Linked DNA regions of Homo sapiens: region 2 is linked to region 1. Evidence: promoter capture Hi-C in 16 types of primary human blood cells and fetal thymus (Javierre and others, 2016). All regions are on one chromosome and are shown on one strand. The core of a region is centred on a gene start or on the middle of the fragment in contact, and the rest is flanking DNA. Distances in the headings are between cores, read along the strand shown. Region 1 holds the start of GOLT1A (golgi transport 1A). Region 2 has its middle 23 kb from the start of NFASC.

Region 1 (3,103 bases), core at 587-3,086:
CCTGTCTTTACAACACTGTCCCGGGTGTCCACATGCAATTGCTCTAAACCACTTTTATCTTCTTTTCTTTTCCCAATCCATCCTCTATCCCCCATTGCCCATTGGAAATATGTGATCTCTAAGGCCTTTTAAGATCCCAGAGACTGAATTTTACCTCAACGCTGATATGTTTCAAGACAGAGGTTGATGTGTCTGTGGTACTCTATGGCGACCCCATTCCATGGGAGCTATTTTGACAATACACACATACCTAAGACTGAGTTCCTTTGCATGCACATCATACTTCTATATTATCTCCACCTTGTGCTCTCTAATTTGCCTTGCTATGTTATCCCTATTTCAATTAAGATGCTTTCCCTCTCATCATATGCAAGTACGTCTGGTCTGTTATTCCTTATCTAACAGTTTTTATTCTATGTTCACTTCCTGCTACTCTTTCATTTTCTTGCATGTGTGTGATTTTTGTTTTTGCATAGAATGGCTCATCTTCTATTTCTCTTAAATTCAAACATATATTATGTGTGGGTGCAAGCAATCTGCCTATTTCATTTATGTCTTCTGGTAAGTCTTGCCTGAACATTTATATATTGAAAGACATCATGTTTTATTATAATTTATCTTTTTGTTTCTTTTTAAAAAATTATGTTAGCTTTCCTTGGTTTTGTTGTTGTTGTTTGGTTTGTTTTTTTTTGAGACAGGATCTCGCTCTGCTACCCAGGCTGGAGTGCATGGCTTGATCACAGCTCATCGCAGCCTCGACCTTCTGGGCTCAAGCAATCCTCCTACCTTAGCCTCCCCAGTAGCTGGGACTACAGGCAGGTACCACCACATCCGGCTAATTTTTTATTTTTATTATTGTAGAGACAAGGTCTCACTATGTTGCTCAGGCTGGTCTCAAACTCCTGGGCTCAAGCAATCCTCCTGCCTTGGCCTCCCAAAATGCTGGGATTACAGACATAATGCATTTTGTATGCCAGGCCTATTTGCATTTTTAAATGATGTATATAGGTAGTCTTTGAAATTCATTTCTTCATTTCTGGACACAGAAGACATTGCAAAGTGGATGTTGGCTCTCCTGGCATCAATGCCACGTCAGAACCACTGCTCTGCGATGGGAAAAAAGGATGTTAGGAACTAACTGCCTCTCTTTTTGCAGGCCCAAAGGACGAATCCATGTCTACACAGCTGGTGGGTAGACTAGAACCAGGCCTCCTAAATTGTGCAGTCCTGCCCCAACCCCAAATTCAGGGCTTTGTCTTCCATAGCTCAACATCACAGTCAGTCCAAAGCTTGGACGCCGCTTGGGGAAAGGAGGTCGAAGACCTTCACGTCTAACTTCCCCCATGGCGCTTTTGCCATTGATTTAACCCGATCTGGCTCTGCCATTAGGTCAACAACAGGCTTTGTGCTCAGTCGCTCATCGCCTCCCAGCGCCTAGCATGTGCAATAGCAGAGAGCAAAAAGCTTGACTTTCAAGATGAATTTAGTACATTCCCAAAGGGATGCGCAGATGCCAACTCTTCCCACACTATCAAACCAAGCAAGAAACTTGAGCACCCCCTAGATTCCAATGCTTCCACATACAATCTAAGTTTCGCGGAGCAGACGAGAGCCGCAGAACACCGCGAGGTGCGAGGAAAGGGTCAGGTGGGCGGTGCCTTCCCCGGGCAGGCGCGGCAGGTGGAGGGGCGGGGCATTGCCCTACCGGAAAACGGGAGGAGGGAGCTGGCGAGTAGAAGCACCTGCGTGGTGTGCGGGGGTGGAGCGGGGGCTGGAGGGAGAGTTAATGATTTGCCACAGGCTCATTTCGCAACTTAACCAAGGGTCAGCTTCCCGTGACCATGTACCAGCTGCGTCCTCTGGGCCACGCTCCACTTGCCCGCTTCCACCCGGAAAGCCCCCCAGGCTGAGTGCGGCATGATCTCCATCACCGAATGGCAGAGTAAGTGGGATGAGCGGGGCTGCAATGGGCTATCCAGGCCAGGCTCCCTGCCGGCTGGCTCTCTCTCCCAGCTGGGCTCTCTGTCACTACAAGCGTGACCTCTGGAGCCAGGGGCTGGGAGATGCTGTGCTGGCACCCTGGGGCAGCAGGCAGGGTGGGGTGTGGCTCCCTACCCTCCAGCGGGTGGGAGTTGCTCAGGGCCCACAGGTAGCTAGAGGCTGGTGCCCAGGGGGCCTGGCAGGTTCCCCATTCACACTGACCCCTTTCCCATCCCGGGTTCTTAGAACTGGGTTGCCACAAAGGTGGACTCAGGAGGCCTCTGCCCATTCAGACATCTTTCCCCACACCATCAAGGTCTCCTGTGGCCCTGGGGGCTTCTTATAAAAAACTAAACTCCACTCCCCTGACCAAACCACCATACCCTCACTCCTAAACATCCTTCCCCTTCTTTTGGGGGAAGAGGTAGGGAGGAGGTCTTGGAACAAGTCTGGGGCCATGGGAAGAACCGTGGCTCTGTGGGCTTCATTTGGGTGAGTTACTTAAAGCCTCTGAGCCTTGGTTTTTCATCTGAGAATTGGTGACAACATTCTTTTGTTCACTCAACAGATTTGTCTCTGCTGTGTGCCAAGCACTGTGTTGGATATAGAGTGTCCAACATTAAATGAAACTGACTCCCTGCTTACATTCTAGAGAGGGGAGACAGGTAATTAACAGAAAGAAGTATATAGTATATCAGAAGATGATAAGTCCTCCAGATGAAAATAAAACAAGAGGAGGCTATGGAGTTCGAGGTAGGAGGGGTCGCTATTTTATATAGAGTGGTCAGGGAAGCCTCACTGAGAAGGTGAGCCTTTATTCAGATCTTTTTTCAGAGATCTATAGGAAGTGAGGAAGCAAAGCCACGCAGCTCTCTGGAGGGGAAATGTTCAGGAAGCAGGGACAGGCAGTGCAAAGGCCCTGAGGCATTAGCATACTTGGTGTGTTTGAAGAACAACAAGGAGGTGGGTATACCTGGAGCAAAGTGAGGTGAGGGGAGAATCATAGGAGTTTAGGTCAGGGATGTCACTGAGGGGTCAGGACACTGGAGACTTATAGACCATGGTAATGACCTTGGTTTTGTGCTATGGTGTGATATGTTCTATTTCTATGTTTAAAAGATCA
Region 2 (3,007 bases), core at 454-2,953, 590 kb before region 1:
ATTTCCTTTGTTGTGCAGAAGCTTGTTAGTTTAATGGAATCCTATTTGCCTGTTTTTGCTTTTGTTGCGTGTGCTTTTTTGGTCTTATTCAAAAAATCCTTGCCCAGACCAATGTCATGAAGGGGTTCCCCAATTTTCTTCCAGTAGTTTCACAGTTTCGGGCCTTACATTGGTTTTTAATCCGTCTCTATTTGATTTTTGGACATGGTGAGAGATAGGGAGTCTGGTTTCATTTTTCTGCATATGAATATCCAGTTTTCTCAGCACCCTTTATTGGATAGATTGGCCTTTGCCCAATGTGTGTTCTTGATGCCTTTGTTGGAAATCAGTTGGCTGTAAGAGCATAGATTTATTCTTGGTCTCTCTATTCTGTTCTGTTGTTTTGTGTGTCTGTTTTTCTGCGAGTAAGTACCATGCTGTTTTGATTGCTATTGCTTTGTAGTGCATTTTACGTTTGTAGTATAGTCAGATAGTGTGATGCTTCCAGCCTTATTCCCCTTTTATTTTAAACAGGTGGGGTCTCACTCTTGCTCAGGTTGGAGCACAGTGGCACAATCATAAGTCACTGAAAAACTCCTGGGCTCAGGTGATCCTCCTACCTCAGTCTCCTGAGTAGCTGGGACTACAGGCATGTGCCACCACTCCTGGCTAATTTATTTTTTATTTTTTTTTAGAGATGGGGGTCTTAATGTTGCCTAGGCTGACCTCAAACTCCTAGCCTCAAGTGATCCTCCCTAAATGCTGAGATTACAGTCATGAGTTACCACACTTAATGAATTATAGTAAGTCCATGTGATAGAGTAACTATTAACACAGTGAAAAAGAATGAGATGACTTTCATAAAATGGTAAGGATGAAATCCAAGATAGATTGTAACTTAAAAAAGCAGAATCATTCCTAAAATTGAAACTACTTCTAAATATGTGCAACTACTATGTATCCATAATAATTAAAAATAAATTTAGGATTAAATAAAAAATTTAAACAAGCAAAAGTCAAAAAGAAAAACTAGTACTAGATCACTAATCAAATATTTTAAAATAAAATTGAACCTATACAAGTATCAAAAGAAAATCTGGGAGCATATTTTTATAATCTTGAAGTGTGCACAATCTAAGTATGGTTCAAGCCCTGAAGTCATAAAAGAAAAAACTGATAAGCTCAGATCATACATTTCTACTATGGTAGCAAAAACCACCATAAAAAAGTAAAAGCATGAATGACAGAGTGAGAAAATATTTGCAACATCATGAACAAATGGTTCCTTTAATGAGTAAAAGCTCCTACCAATCAGTAAGGAAAAGATCAACAAGCTGGGTGTTGTGGCACATACTTGTAGTCCAAGCTACTGGGGAGGCCAAGATGGGAGGATTGCTTGAGGCCAAGTGCTAGAGGCCACAGTGTCCTATGACTGCACTTGTGAATAGCCACTGCACTCCAGTCTGAGCAACATAGCAAGACCCCATCTCTTTAAAAAAACCAACAAGATATAGAACACTATGTGTAGTATGTGGCTATTTGCATTAAAATATAAGCTTTTATATCCCTAGAAATATCTGGAAAGATAACCCATGAGACAGGTACCAGCTTAACATGAGAAGGGAACTGTGGGCCAAGAGTCAGGCTGGGAGGGAGCTTAGATTTTCAATCAATACTAGTTTTACACTGTTTTAATTCTTTATGGTGTGCATGCATTAACTTCAAACTCTTCAAAAAAATTCATTGACAGGGAGGCAAGTCTCTAGGCACAGACCAAGCACCCACATTCCCATCTCTTCAGTGACCCATGTATCTTTGGATCTGCCCTGCTGCTTCTGCATTTCTCTCCCTAATTAAATACTTTCTTTTCTTCAAGGCTCATTCAAGCTTCTGACTCCTTCTCTCAAGCCCATAGAGGTGGCCTCTCCCTGCTGTCAACATGTAACTTGTGGAATGTTCCTTCCCTCCCTCCCTCCCTCCTTCCCTCCCTTCCTTCCTTCCTTCTTTCCCTTTCTTTTTCTTTCTGTTTTTTCCTTTTCTTTCTTCCTGCTTCCTGCCTTTTTTCCTTTTTCTTCCTTCCTTTCTTCTTTTCTATTTATGCTGCTCTGTGCGTTTGTTGCTTGTCTACATCTACCATGAGAATTGTGTTGTACTTCTTTCTATCACCAAGAATGCCATCTGCCTTTGGTAAAGAGTCATTCCTGTCTTCCCTGACCTCCCAGAACACTCATGGTCACACCACACAATGCATTCTGTAATTATACCCTGGCAAATTTCCCATCAAAGCACTAGGAGTCTCACCCCAGCTACACCGGGAGCTCCTAGAAGGTAGGGGCCTGGATTTTGCTCATCTCTGTGGTGGCTCAGTGCTGAGAGCAGAGTGGGAACCCCAGAGAGATATCTTGAGTTCCCAGGTGATGGATGGAAGGTCACTCAACACAGAAAAACATCACTACTGCTTTTATTGGTCACCCAGTGGATACTAACACTTGGTCCTGGAGGTCTAGTTGCTTTCTATGCCACAAGACCATGGTCCTCTCCCACTGTGGAAATAACACACAGGCAGAGGGAGTGGCCTGTAGCTGGTCGTGTGCCCAGGAGTTCAGAACCCCGCACCTTCTTCCATCATTGCAGCCCCAGTTCCTCAGCTTCATCCTACCAGCCCCCTGGAAAATGTAAAAATGTAGGCAGGTCTCTTCTTTCTTACCGCACTTTAATCCCACCCCTACCTTAACCATGAATATGTGTACACTGAGGCTTAAATTTTCCTTTGTGAACTTCTCAAGTTCAGGGAAACTTTCACTATATATTTATGAATAGTTATGTGTTGAACCCTGGCAGCACTCTGAGTTCAAAGATAGACAAACAGTGTGCAGATGCTGCTCTTAAAGAGCTTACAGTCTTTTGGAGAAAACAGTCACATGAACAAAATTAATGCAATGTTGTTAGCAGTGATCGATCGGGAGCTGACCAGGGTGCTAGGAGAACAGAGGGTGGGGGAATTGCACTGGTTTTGTGGGTGGGGGGA

What was found. The method cuts DNA at HindIII sites, captures the fragments that hold promoters and counts their contacts. A CHiCAGO score of 5 or more calls a contact.
Region 2: a fragment that was not itself captured here is called in contact with the fragment with the promoter of GOLT1A in region 1 in 1 of 17 cell types (M2 macrophages); the score reaches 5.6 in M2 macrophages.

Annotation. Positions count from the first base shown.
Region 1 is chr1:204,212,721-204,215,823 of GRCh38, reverse strand. GOLT1A (golgi transport 1A) reads left to right here and starts at 1,836. Exons shown (of 5, transcript NM_198447.2): 1 at 1,836-1,942. The coding sequence starts at 1,918. RefSeq lists an enhancer at 1,309-1,965. The HindIII fragment of the contact is 7,307 bases long and covers 1,467-3,103 here.
Region 2 is chr1:204,803,755-204,806,761 of GRCh38, reverse strand. No RefSeq gene overlaps it. Among named protein-coding and RNA genes, the nearest start is that of NFASC, 23 kb to the left of the region's middle. The HindIII fragment of the contact is 331 bases long and covers 1,538-1,868 here.